2 separate regions of the Homo sapiens genome follow, and region 1 is linked to region 2. The links are contacts of gene promoters, found by promoter capture Hi-C in human tissues and cell types (Jung and others, 2019). All regions are on one chromosome and are shown on one strand. Each heading gives the region's core, a stretch centred on a gene start or on the middle of the fragment in contact. The rest is flanking DNA. Distances are from core to core; before and after follow the strand shown.

Region 1 (7,066 bases), core at 1,428-3,927, 130 kb after region 2:
CAGCCCCCGGGCGAGCGGCGGCCAGGCCAGAGGACGCCCCCTGCGCGGCTCGGGCCGGGCCATGGCCCGCGCGCCCCCGCCGGGGCCCCAGGGCGGCGGGACGCGAGTCCTCTGGGCCCCCGGCCCGCGCCTCTAGCGTGCCCCTCCCGGCCCCGGGCCCGGCCCCGCGCACGCGTGGGAAAGTTGGCCTGGAACCGGCCCGACCAGTTCCGCCCGGGCGCGAGGACCGGCCGCAGGAAGTTGCTGCAAAACTTTTTTGGGGGGTGCAGCCCGTGCCCCCCGCGCGCCGGGGCCGAATGCGCGCCGCGTAGGGTCCCCCGGGCCGAGAGGGGTGCCCGGAGGGAAGAGCGCGGTGGGGGCGCCCCGGCCCCGCTGCCCTGGGGCTATGGCCATGGTGACCGGCGGCTGGGGCGGCCCCGGCGGCGACACGAACGGCGTGGACAAGGCGGGCGGCTACCCGCGCGCGGCCGAGGACGACTCGGCCTCGCCCCCCGGTGCCGCCAGCGACGCCGAGCCGGGCGACGAGGAGCGGCCGGGGCTGCAGGTGGACTGCGTGGTGTGCGGGGACAAGTCGAGCGGCAAGCATTACGGTGTCTTCACCTGCGAGGGCTGCAAGAGCTTTTTCAAGCGAAGCATCCGCCGCAACCTCAGCTACACCTGCCGGTGAGCCCCCCATCCGCGCGCCGCCGCCGTGCACCCCGCCCCGACCTGGGGCAGGCCTCTGACCTGCTCGGTCACCTTGGGCCTGGCGCTGACCTTCCCTGGGCCTCCACTGCCCCCTCTGAGATAGGGGCACAGCACCCTCCTCCCGCATTCCATGGCTGGGATTGTGTATACAGTCGGCGCTACATCGTTGCAGGTTCCCCCCCCATCAGGTGGTCCCTGGAGGCTTTTGCCCCAGTTACTTGCTTCTCCTTCCCTCCGCTTTTTCTCTGGGGAGGGGTCATCTCCGCGCTGGGGTGGGGGTAGGGGTGCTGTCAGGGGTGGTAACCCAACCCCAGGGCACCCGTTCTCGGGGATCCCGGCGCGCGGGATGCCCTCGAGGGAATCGAACGTGGAACTTGGACCGTGGAGCTCGCAGCGTCCAGGGGCCATTGTCTGCGGCCGCGCGGATCGATACGGCGCGCCCTTGGGGTCAAATATCACTTCCAAAGTCGCTGTGGCTACGGAGGCGGCAGACGGAGGGAGGCTGGGGTGGCACGGGGCGGCCTTCTTCGCATGAGGGGCCCAGCGGTGGGGGTGGGGGTGGGAGCTGGGCTTGCCCATCTCAGGGAACCCCTCTGGGCTCACTCTGGGCCTTGGGTCACCGGAAATCGCCACTGGAAGGCCGGCAGGGCCACCGGAATTGACTGAAACGTCCCTCTCCCCCAGGGGTGGGTGCAGACCTGGGGCTCCTGGAAAAATCCCTCAAACTTTGGGTGTCTCTGAGACGGGCAGGGAGTGAAACGTTTCCGAGCAGGAGCCTTGGGCTGTCCCAGGTCGGAGACCTCTCTGGCAGGGCGTGGCCTTGCTAGCTGTTCTGGCGGAAGGTCCCCAGGGAAAGCGATCGGGGTTGTCCAGCCCGGGAGTTCTTTTCTCACCGTTCCCGGGCGAGCATCCGATCTGTCCGTTTATAAGCCCCTACTCTGCACCCCAGGAACATGCAGGGTCTCTGTGGAGCCCGTCTAGACGGTCTCAGTTCCCAGCTGCCCAAAACAGAGGCCCAAAGGCCCAGAGAGAGGTCCTGGTGCCTGCTTTGCGTTGGACATGGAGGGACGCTGCCCGAGTTGGGGGCACTGTGGGGGAACTGTGGGGCTAGGGTGGGGACCGCTGAGTTCGGATCGGAGTGGCCCCAGGGAGAACGGCTGATGGAAGGCTTGTTGGCTGAGGCCACCAAATAGGGCCCCAGGTACCCGAGGGTGGAGTTTGGCCCCAGGTCCCGGGTCAGGGCTGGCCTGGTGTGGCCATGTGTGGCAGAGCTGCCTTGCTCCCTCCTCCAGCACAAAGTGGGCCACTAGACTTTGGCCTCATTCTTGCTGCTGGAAAACCGCCTGCTCTCTGGTCATATCTTTAGGGAGGGTAAGGGAGGGGGGCTCAGGCAGTTTTGGGGTCCCAGGAGCTTCCTGAGGGTGGTGTCAGGGAGCAGCAATTTTGGGTGGGGGGGGCCTTGCTTGGAGCTGACAGGTTTGTGCTGTGTCAGTTGTGTGACCTGGTGAAATCACCATTCCATTCTGAGCTTCAAATGGATTGAGCAGGGTCTCGCTGGGGCCCAGCCTGGGTAGTTTGATGCCAGCCCCTCCAGAGAGACCCCAGCTCCAAGTCTAGCTCCTGAGAAGCCCCCAGTCTGGAGGAGACACAGTGAGACAGATGCCCCAAGTCTGTGGGATCTGGGGTCCCAGGGAGAGAGCAGAGGCTCTGCCTGGAGGTCAGAGAGGGCTGCCTGGAGGAGGCTAGGGGACATGAGCCTTGAAGCATGGAGTTGGCAGGTGGAAGAAAGGCCACAGGGACATGCCAGAATGTGGTCCAGACAAAACACTTAGTGGCAGACTGGGGGAGCTGTGCTGTAAGAGGGGGACTGTGCAGCCATGGGAGAAGTCAGAGCTAGGTGGGCCTGAAATGCTGGCTGAGGGTAATGGGGAGCCATAGAGGGTGTGTGAGCAGGAGAGGGCTCTGATCAAATTGGACTGGAGGCCAGAAGCCCAGGGAGGAAGCTGAGTTGGGCCATGGGGTTGGGCAAAAAAGCTTGCACTCTTTAGGTGGGATAACAGGAAGAACTTAACTGTTTCCCTCCTTGGAGGGATGGATCTGTCCCAATTCCACAGCTGGGGAAGTTGAGACTGAAGGTTCAGGGCCTCCCCTGAGGTCAGGGGCCCCTGAGCTGGGCCTCTGCCTGCCTGCAGGGCCGCCCCAGGCCAGGCCGTTTCCACCCGGCTGCCCTGGACCCTCCCACCACCCAGCCGCTGGGCTTTGTTCTGGTTCTGCCTGAGCTCCCTCTGCCCTAGTGGGGCCTCTTCCCAGGGGCTCAGTGGCTGGTGCTGCAGGACCCAGGCAGTGGTGGAGGGGGGGTACGGGGGAGTGGGCGCAGATCCTCAGCTTTCCTAAGTTGGGTTCTCCGGCTGGGCTCTGGGTCTTGGCACTGTCCCCCGTGAACCCCTCTGACCCAGTCCATCCCATATGATAGGGCAATATCTGACCTCCCATTTTCAGATGAGGAAACCGAGGCTCAGTGGGGCAGTCGCCACCTGAGGGGCAGGGCTGGGTATCTGCAGCTGAGATTCATCTGTTTTGTTTTGTTTTGTTTTGTTTTTGAGACGGAGTTTCACTCTTGTTGCCCAGGCTGGAGTGCGATGGCGTGATCTCAACTCACTGCAACCTCTGCCTCCCGGGTTCAAGCGGTTCTCCTGCCTCAGCCTCCCAAATAGCTGGGATTACAGGCATGCGCCACCATGCCCGGCTAATTTTGTATTTTTAGTAGAGACAGGTTTTCTCTATGTTGTTCAGGCTGGTCTCAAACTCCCAACCTCAGGTGATCCGCCCGCCTCGGCCTCCCAAAGTGCTGGGATTACAGGCATGAGCCACTGCACCCAGCCTTTTTTTTTTTCTTTTTTTTTGAGACAGAGTCTCACTCTGTCACCCTGGCTGGAATGCAGTGGGTCAATCTTGGCTCACTGCAACCTCCACCTCCCCAGTTCAAGCGATTCTCCTTCCTCAGCCTGCCAAGTAGCTGGGATTACAGGCATGCGCCACCACGCCCAGCTCATTTTTGTATTTTTAGTAGAGACGGGGTTTCACCATGTTGGCCAGGCTGGTCTTGAACTGACCTCAGGTGATCCACCCTCCCCCGCCTCCCAAAGTGCTGGGATTACAGGCGTGAGCCACTGCAGAGATGCATCTGTTTAATTCCCTTAAGTGGTGGTTCTACTCTGTGACTGTCTCTGTGTGTCCCCTGGGTGTCCAGCTGGAACCCCAGGGGTAGTTGCTCCAGGCCCAGGCCTTGGAGAGCCCCCAGCTCCTGGTGGCAAGAGACCAGGGGAGTCCAAGGGCAGGGGCCAAGGGGAGAAGGTTCTGGGGACATTTGAAGAATAAGGCCTGGACCTTCCTGCTTGGGGGCTGACCCAGGATGGGGAGCTCACCACCTCTCAGGGTGGGGCCACCTGTCTCATCCCTGCAAGAGGCAACGGCATTCACTGAGGGCTGACCAGGAAAATCTCCAGCTTGCATAGGGGTTGGGTGGTCCTCTCGGAAGAGCGTAGGTGTGGGGCCTTCAGGGCTGAGGACCAGAGTGACTTTGTTTACTTCCTCATTCCTTGGGGTGGGCATTGTGCGGGTGATAATGCTGGGGCCCCACAATGCTATGACCCCACAGACCACTAGCCCCTGGCCTGACCCCTAGTTAATTCACAAAGTCCAGCTCTCTGACCATGTCCTCTTTGCCTTCACATCTTTTTGGGGACAATGACCCTGCTCAGCCTGACAGTGACCAAATAAAATGAAACTCTTTAGGCCTCCATATTTGTGTATTTCAACCCTTTTGCTCTGGCTGTACCCTCTCTCTGGGATCACCCCGCCATTCACCTGGAGAACTCCTATTCATCCTTCAAAACCCATGCCAATGTGCCCTCCCTGGGGTGTTCATCTGCTTTTCCACAGATTCCTCTTCATCCATCACCACTCATCCGGGTTATCCTGTCTGGTTTGCAGACCTGCAAGCTGAGCTCCTGTACCCCTTTGGGGCTACCTCTCCAGTCTAGAGGGCCCCTACTAGTATTTCTGAGGGGCAGCCTCCAAAGGCGGCTCATAGGCTGGTTCGGGGAGGAGGATATGGGGGTCTCAGGGAGCCCTGGCTTCTGTGTGCCCCCAGGTCCAACCGTGACTGCCAGATCGACCAGCACCACCGGAACCAGTGCCAGTACTGCCGTCTCAAGAAGTGCTTCCGGGTGGGCATGAGGAAGGAGGGTGAGTACGTGCTGGGGACACACTGGGGACGATCACAGCCGCTGGAGCCGGGGTGAACAAACAGCTTCTTCCTCCCCTTTTTCCCCTCCCTTTCACCCCTCCCTTTCACAGGGGTCTGGGTGCCTCACAGGGTGGGGGCCGGCGCCTGCTAACCTCATTACCACTGATCCCTTGATCCCGTGGGCTGCAGTCTGGCCCTAGGCTGGAGGAATCCAATTAGGATCCGTGGCCCCCTGGTTGCTGCCGTGGAGCTGAAGAGGCCAGGGACGCCCCACAAGGGACTTTCCCCAGCCCCATTCTCTTGCAGGAGCTGCCTTCCCCAATTACCCCCGACTCCAGCCTCAGAGGCCAGTTCCCTGGCCCTGACACCTTGGTGACCTCTTGTCTGCTAGCGCGGCCACCGCGTTCTGAACAAGGATTTTTTTTTTTATTTGATTTGTTTCTCCTCCACCCTTCACCCATGCTTTTTGTTTGCCCAAGGCAGGAACTCTGCCCGATTAAGGCAAAGGGCAGCTTACCCTTTCTTCTGACCCCGGGCGCTGGGAGCAAGAGTGAGGCCCAGCTGTCTCTGCTCAGGGGACCCAGGTGGACGGGCGTATTCTGGGCTGCTGGGCCTAGAACTCTGCCAAACCCCCTTAGAATTCAAGTAGAACCCAGAGATTTCTGCATGGATTTCTGGGGTTCAGGAATAGAATCTAGCCTATTGGACGAGATCTCCTGTGCTGGGTTTCAGGTTCCTCTGGGGACTGTGTCGTGGGCCAGGCTGGCAGTTCTTTCTAATGTCTAACCTGAGCCTCCCCTGCTTTGAAGTTTTTTTTTCCTTATTTTCTTTATTTATTTTTATTTTTATTTGAGATGGAGTCTCGCTCCATCTTCCAGGCTGGAGTGCAGTGGTGTGATCTCAGCTCACTGCAGCCTCCGCCTCCCGGGTTCAAGTGATTGTCCTGCCTCAGCCTCCCGAGTAGCTGGGACTACAGATACGGGCCAACACGCCCAGCTAATTTTTTTTTTTTTTCTGAGACTGAGTCTTGCTCTGTCGCCCAGGCTGGAGTGCAGTGGCATGATCTCGGCTCACTGCAGGCTCCGCCCCCTGGGTTCACGCCATTCTCCTGCCTCAGCCTCCGGAGTAGCTGGGACTACAGGCGCCTGCCATCTCGCCCGGATATTTTTGTATTTTTAGTAGAGACGGGGTTTCACCATGTTAGCCAGGATGGTCTCGATCTCCTGACCTCGTGATCTGCCTGCCTCAGCCTCCCAAAGTGCTGGGATTACAGGCGTAAGCCACCGCGCCCGGCACGCCCACCTAATTTTTGTATTTTGTTTTGTTTTGTTTTTGAGACAGAGTCTCGCTCTGTTGCCAGGCTGGAGTGCTGTGGTGCCATCTCGGCTCACTGCAACCTCTGACTCCCTGGTTCAAGCGATTCTCCTGCCTCAGCCTCCTGAGTAGCTGGGATTACAGGCACATGCCACCACGCCCAGCTAATTTTTGTATTTTTAATAGAGATGGAGTTTCACTATGTTGGCCAGGATGGTCTCGATCTCCTGATCTCGTGATCTGCCCGCCTCGGCCTCCCAAAGTGTTGGGATTACAGGCGTGAGTCACCGCGCCTGGCCTAATTTTTGTATTTTTAATAGAGATGGTGTTTCACCGTGTTGGCCAGGCTGGAGTCTCCAACTCCTGACCCCAGGTGATCCGCTCGCCTCAGCCTCCCAAAGTGCTCGGATTATAGGCATGAGCCACCCCACCCGGCAGCTTTTTTTATTTTCTAGAGACAGAGTCCCACTATGTTGCCCAGGCTGGTCTCGAACTCCTAGCTTGAAGCGACCCTCCCACCTTGGCCTCCCAAACTACTGGGATTACAGGAATGAGCCACCATACTTGGCGTAAAGCTGTTGTTTTTTGGTCTAGGCCTTGGTGGGAGAAGCTGAGAGAGGCAGCTGAGGGGCTTTCTTTTAAAACTGATCACTCCCTGTGGCCCTTTTAAGTTTGGGGGTAACTTTCTTGTCCCTGCCCCCATAACATGGATTTTGCCTCTACTTGTCTATTTTACCTAAAATCCTCATATATCTCAAGTCATGGCCTCAGAGCAAACAGCCTCGCCAGAAGTCTCCAAAAGCCTCGGGTGGAAAT
Region 2 (6,681 bases), core at 2,594-5,093:
GACGACAAGAGAAAACTCTGCCTCAAAACAAACAAACAAAAAGTTACAAAGTTAAATCAGCTAATATAACAAATGATCCAAAACAGAAACATTACAAATTAAAGGTGTGAGATCAAATTAGAAAAGGACACCAAATATTGTTTTTGGGCTTGATACAAATAACATTGGTATGTATATTTAAAACTCTGCTTCTCACATGGTGACAACTGTTCAAAATTGTGGCACATCAGTACCATCAGGTCCGGGGGGCTTTTTGTTTTCTGGGAGTTTGAGGTTGCCTTTATTTTTCCTTGTCAACTGGTATCACATTCATACATACATAGATGCAACATCTTCTATATACAATGAAGAACAGCCAAGATCTTAAGTGTACACCAAGACCCACATCTACTGGCATTGGCCCAGACACTGCACCCAGCCTCAGCTCCTCTGCTGGACCCTGGTCACCCACACTTCATCCCCATCATGCTCTCCTTTCCCCAGTGCTCTCACAGGCCTGGGGCACCGGCAGCTGGGAATACTGCCCCTCCCCTATGTCTGAGTTCCTCAGCCTGACATCAGAGGCCAGGCATGATCCAGCCCTCACATCTTAAAAAATGCCATCATTGCCCGGTGCGGTGGTTCATTCTGTAATCTCAGCACTTTGGGAGTCCAAGGCAGGTGGATCACCTGAGGTCAGGAGTTTGTGACCAGCCTGGTCAACATGGTGGAACCCCGTCTCTACTAAAAATACAAAAATTAGCTGAGCAGTAGTGCTGCACATCTGTAATCCCAGCTACTTGGGAGGCTGAGGCAGGAGAATTGCTTGAACTCTGGAGGCAGAGGTTGCAGTGAGCCGAGATCGCACCACTGCACTCCATCCTGAGCAATAGAGCAAGACTCTGTCTCAAAAAAAAAAGGCCATCATTTATTAAGACTGAGTATGTTCCAGGCATGACGTCAAGTACTTCAAAACTGGCTATGTTGTTGGCCAGGTGAGGTAGCTCACGCCTGTAATCCGAGCACTTTGGGAGGCCGACGCAGGCGGATCACGAGGTCAGGAGTTTGAGACCAGCCTGGTGAAACCCTGTCTCTACTAAAAATACAAAAAATTAGCCAGGCATGCTGGCGCGTGCCTGTAGTCCCAGCTACTCAGGAGGCTGAGGCAGGAGAATCCCTTGAACCCAGGAGGCAGAGGCTGTGGTGAGCCAAGATAGTGCCACTGCACTCCAGCCTGGGGAACAGTGCCAGACTCCATCTCAAAAAAAAAAAAAAAAAACAAAAAAAAAAAACAAAAAAAACTGGCTATGTTGTCTTCACTTGATTTTTGTTTTGTTTTTGTTTTTTGGGTTTTTTTTTTTTTAGAACAGGGTCTTGAACTTGTGGGCTCCAACGATTCTCCCACCTCTGCCTCCCTAACTGCTGGGATTACAGGTGTGAGCCACTGCACCTGGCTATCTCCACTTCGGACAGGAGAAAACTGAGGCCCAGGGAGGGAAAGTCACTTCTCCAAGGCCACAAAGCTGGTAGGTGGCACAGTCAGAACTCAACTCCAGAACTCTAAACTGTAATGCTGGGTTCACTCAGACTACATTGCCCCCATTACGGAGGATGTTCTCCTCCTGCCCAGCTCTGGGGGGCTCTGGGTGGGTCTGGCCAACCCAGAGAAATGGCTGGTTGGGCACCCGTGGCAGCCCCCAGCCCTCCTTCCCCCACTAGCAGCCGCCGACGACGCCGCTGGGAAGGGTCCGGAATCAGGATCAGGAACCACCGGGTAGCTGCAAAGGTCAAAGGTCAGACATGGGTTTCCTGCCCACCCCTGGGAACTTCCTTCTTCTCAACTCTACACTCGCCTCACTGAGCACCACCCTGGAGTACCCCTCCGCTCTGTCAACGACCCCTCCCCACTCTGTTACCCTGGCTAATGGGGGGACGGGTCCCCACGCCCCAGCCTTCACATTGCCCTACAGAGGACAGCAATTGCATGATTGTCACCTGTCCGGAGTCCAGCCTCCTTTCCGGCTCCCTGCTCCTGTTCCTCCAGCCCACCCTGACTCCACAGGGTGGGGGGTACCTGTCCCAGTCTGTCTCCCAAGACTGGGAGTTGCTTGTGGCTGAGGTTGGGACTGACACCTCTTGGGGGGCCCTGGCATCACCCAGCATGGAGCAAACAAAGAAGGGACTCCAGGGAGGGTTTCCCTGGAGCTCCTGATCCTGGGAGATAGGCAGGACACACAGAATCCTTTGCTTCCGGGTCCCCAAATCCCCTCCAGGCCCAACTGGGGGGTGACCCACAGCGACCCCAGAAAACTCCCGTGGTTTTTTTGGTTTGTTTGTTTTTGTTTTTGAGACAGAGTTTCTCTCTTATCTCCCAGGATGGAGTGCAGTGGCCCGATCTCGCTTCACTGCAACCTCCGCCTCCCGGGTTCAAGTGGTTCTCCTGCCTCAGCTTCCCAAGCAGCTGGGATTACAGGTGCTCGCCACCACACACGGCTAATTTTTGTATTTTTAGTGGAGATGGGGTTTCACCATATTGGCCAGGCTGGTCTCGCACTCCTGACCTCAGGTGATCCGCCTGCCTCAGCCTCACAAAGTGCTGAGATTACAGGTGTGAGCCACTATGCCCGGCCGCCCATGGGGTTTTGAGTGTCGGGGGAGGAATCTCAGTCCCACGTATCCACCACTTGTCATTCACCATCTCACGGAGCCCCCAGCAGTGCCTCCAGCAGGAAATGATCCTAATCATAACAACAGCCACAGAGTGACGAGGCACTGGGTATACCCCGTCTCACAAAGGGGAAAAGGGAGGCACAGACATGCGAGGCCTCTTGCCCGAGCTCTCCCGGGACAAAGCCAGCTCTTCCCCGCTCCAAGTTCATTATTCCTTGTGCTGCAGTTTCCTGGAGCATTTACTGAGCATCTAAGTGAACAGGGCACTGGGGGCAATGACAGAGCTTGGGGAGCCAGCGCCACCGCCATCCATGGCTCAGCCCTCCGTGACGCCCTCCTATGCAATTACTAATCACCTACTGCTTCTCCATCCCTAGGCTAGCTAAGAGTTTCACACTTTTTCTGTTTTTTTTTTTTTTTGAAACAGAGTCTTGCTCTATACCCCAGGCTGGAGTGCAATGGCACGATCTCTGCTCACCGCAACCTCCGACTCCTGGGTTCAAGCGATTCTCCTGCCTCAGCCTCCTGGGTAGCTGGAATTACAGGCGAGCACCACCACACCTGGCTAAGTTTTGTATTTTTAGTAGAGACGGGGGGTTTCACCACGGTGACCGGGTTGGTCTCAAACTTCTGACCTCAGGTGATCCGTCCGCCTCAGCCTCCCAAAGTGCTGGGATTATAGGCGTGAGCCACCGTGCCTGGCACATTTCCCACGTTTTGTGGCACTTAATCAGCACCGCCCTGGTGAAGTGGGTGCACGTCTGTAGCCAGCCTGTCTTGAGGTAAGTCAAGTTCGCTGAACTAACAGCGTGAGACCCCGAGGCAACCCCTTCTCCTCCCTGTGCCTCAGTTTCCTCCGCCACACAAGGGAGACAGCAACAGACCTGGCATGATTCAGCGACCTAATCACAGCAGGTACTGAGAACAGCACCCGCCAGCAAGTAAAGGCGAACGCGAGGCTCGAAGAGGCCAGGAATGCCTGACCAGCCAGCCAGCGCCCCACCCAGCATTAATCAGAGGGGTCCAGCCGGTGCCCTGGCTCTGGGCCCCCAGCCCCACCCCCGCCTTCTCACAGCCAGAGTGGGAGTGTTGTGATAACCCGCAGCCCCCGTTTCCTCCGGGCCAGGAAGGAGCCAGGCAGAGGAAGTATTAAGAGGAGTAATATAAGCACTCCCCCCTGCGAGGCGGGGGCCAGAGCAGGCCTGGTGGTGAGCAGGGACGGTGCACCGGACGGCGGGATCGAGCAAATGGGTCTGGCCATGGAGCACGGAGGGTCCTACGCTCGGGCGGGGGGCAGCTCTCGGGGCTGCTGGTATTACCTGCGCTACTTCTTCCTCTTCGTCTCCCTCATCCAATTCCTCATCATCCTGGGGCTCGTGCTCTTCATGGTCTATGGCAACGTGCACGTGAGCACAGAGTCCAACCTGCAGGCCACCGAGCGCCGAGCCGAGGGCCTATACAGTCAGCTCCTAGGGCTCACGGCCTCCCAGTCCAACTTGACCAAGGAGCTCAACTTCACCACCCGCGCCAAGGATGCCATCATGCAGATGTGGCTGAATGCTCGCCGCGACCTGGACCGCATCAATGCCAGCTTCCGCCAGTGCCAGGGTGACCGGGTAAGGCTGTGGGCAGGACACTCGCCCTGGGGACCCTGAGCAAGCCCCCTCACCTCTCTGAGCCTGAGTTTCCTCATCCAAGAGAGGGGGACGATCACAGGACCAATGCTCTCTTTTCTTATGAGACAGAGTCTCGCTCCGTCTCCCAGGCTGGAGTGCAGTGGTGCAATCTCGGCTCACTGCAACCTCTGCCTCCTGGGTTGGAGTGATTCTCCTGCCTCAGCCTCCCGAGTAGCTGGGATTACAGGCATGTGCCATCATAACCGGCTCATTTTTGTATTTTTAGTAGAGATGGGGTTTCACCATGTTGGCCAGGCTGGTCTCAAACTCCTGACCTCAAGTGATACGCCTGCCTTGGCCTCCCAAATTGTTGGGATTACAAGCGTGAGCCACTGCACCCGGCCGATAGATTTTTTTTTTTTCCTTAAGAGACAGGGTCTCCATGTGTATCCTGGGCTGGATGGAGTGCAATTGCTATCACAGCTCACTGCAACCTCAATCTCCTGGACTCAAGTGATCCTCTTGCCTCAGCCTCCTGAGTAGCTGGGACTACAGGCGTGCACCACCACACCCAGCTAATATGTTTATATTTAGCAGAGATGAGGTCTCACTATGTTGCCCAGGCTAGTCTCGAACTCCTGGGCTCAAGCAATCCTCTCACCCCAGCCTCCCAAACTGCTGGGATTACAGGTGTGGGGCACTGCGTCCAGCTAAATTTTTTTTATTTCTTTTCTTTTTTTTGGAGGCAGGGTCTCACTCTGTCACCCAGGCTGGAGCACAGTGATGTGAGCATAGCTCACTGAAGCCTTGACATCCTGGGCTCCAGCAATCCTCCTGCCTCAGCCTTTTGAGTAGCTGGCACTATGGACATGCCACTATGCCCAGGTCATTTTTTATTTTTAGTAGACGTGGGGTCTCGCTATGTTGATCAGGCTGGTCTTGAACTCCTGGGCTCAAACAATCCTCCCTCCTGGACCTCCCAAAGTGCTGAGATTACAGGTGGGCACCACCACACCTGGCAATTTTTTTTTTTTTTTTTGAGACGGAGTCTCGCTCTGTCACCCAGGCTGAAGTGCAGTGGCACAATCTCGCCTCACTGCAACCTCCACCTCCCAGGTTCAAGTGATTCTCCTGCCTCAGCCTCCTGAGTAGCTGGGATTACAGGCGTGTGCAACCATGCCAGCTAATTTTTGTATTTTTAGTAGAGACGGGGTTTCACCATGTTTGCCAGGCTGGTCTCAAACTCCTGACCTCAAGTGAGCCACCCACCTCGGCCTCCCATAGTGCTGGGATTACAGGCATGAGCCACCGTGCCCTGACCTGGTGCCCTGGCTAACTTTTTTTTAGAGACAGAATCTCACTATGCTGCTGAGGCTGGTCTTGAACTCCTAGGCTCACCCTCCTAAAGTGCTGAGATTACAGGCATGAGCCACCATTCCCAGCCAGCAACATTTTTTTTAAACTGTAAGTATATTCCATGCAATATTTGAGATATAATTTTGAAAATAATATTCATTGTCTTTTTGGAATCCAAGTTTAATTCTCCTCCTGTGTGTTAATTGGCAGTCCTGAGCCCATAACTTACTATGCATGAAGCTCCCAGAATGTGCCAGCACTAATCAAAGGGGTCCAGCACACACAAGCTGCAAATAAGTGGCTGAAGACCGGCTACAGTAGCTCACACCTGTAATCCCAGCACTTTGGGAGACCGAGGCAGGAGGACCACCTGAGTCCAGGAATTTGAGACCAACCTGGGCAACATGGTGAAACCCTGTCTGTACAAAAAGTACAAAAATTAGGCCAGGCATACTGGCTAACACCTGTAATCCCAGCACTGTGAGAGGCCAAGGTGGGTGGATCACTTGAGGTCAGAAATTTGAGACCAGCCTGGCCAACCTAGTGAAACCCCGTCTGTACTAAAAATACAAAAATTATTAGCCGGGTATGGTGGTATGTGCCTGTAGTCCCAGCTACTCGGGAGGCTGAGGCAGGAGAATCACTTGAACCTGGGAGGCAGAGATTGCAGTGAGCCGAGATCTCACTACTGCACTCCAGCCTGGGCAACAGAGGGAGACTCTGTCTAAAAATAAATACATACATACATACATACATACATACATACAAAAATTAGTCAGGCATGGTGGCACATGCCAGTAGTCCCAGCTACTTGGGAGGCTGAGGTGGGAGGATCACTTGAGCCCAGGAGGTCAAGGCTGCAGTGAGCCAAGATAGTGCCACTGTACTCCAGCCTGGGCGACTGAGTGAGACCCTGAATGGAAAAAAAAAAACAAAAAAAGGATGGACTGAATAAAAGTTCACAGTGTTTTGTTCCTGTTCAATTCTAGCATGTATAAACAGTCCATATTTGCTGTATGCTGGGTGTTGAATTTAGAAATATTAACTCATTGCCAAATCC

The links. Contacts are between HindIII fragments. The study calls those that stand out against the background at their distance.
Region 1: a fragment that was not itself captured here is called in contact with the fragment with the promoter of PLVAP in region 2 in 2 of the 25 tissues and cell types used here (dorsolateral prefrontal cortex and spleen).

What each region holds. Positions count from the first base shown.
Region 1 is chr19:17,238,540-17,245,605 of GRCh38, reverse strand. It overlaps NR2F6 (nuclear receptor subfamily 2 group F member 6), which reads left to right. Exons shown (of 4, transcript NM_005234.4): 1 at 1-663; 2 at 4,841-4,935. The coding sequence starts at 386. Among named protein-coding and RNA genes, the nearest start is that of NR2F6, 3.8 kb to the left of the region's middle. RefSeq lists silencers at 97-256, 267-336, 6,173-6,351. The HindIII fragment of the contact is 5,712 bases long and covers 1-5,533 here.
Region 2 is chr19:17,374,504-17,381,184 of GRCh38, reverse strand. It overlaps PLVAP (plasmalemma vesicle associated protein), which reads left to right and starts at 3,843. Exons shown (of 6, transcript NM_031310.3): 1 at 3,843-4,265. The coding sequence starts at 3,897. It overlaps LOC105372298 (a long non-coding RNA gene), which reads left to right and starts at 1,413. Exons shown (of 3, transcript XR_936362.3): 1 at 1,413-1,505; 2 at 1,699-1,772; 3 at 2,355-2,395. RefSeq lists an enhancer at 1,137-2,025. The HindIII fragment of the contact is 34,336 bases long and covers 1-6,681 here.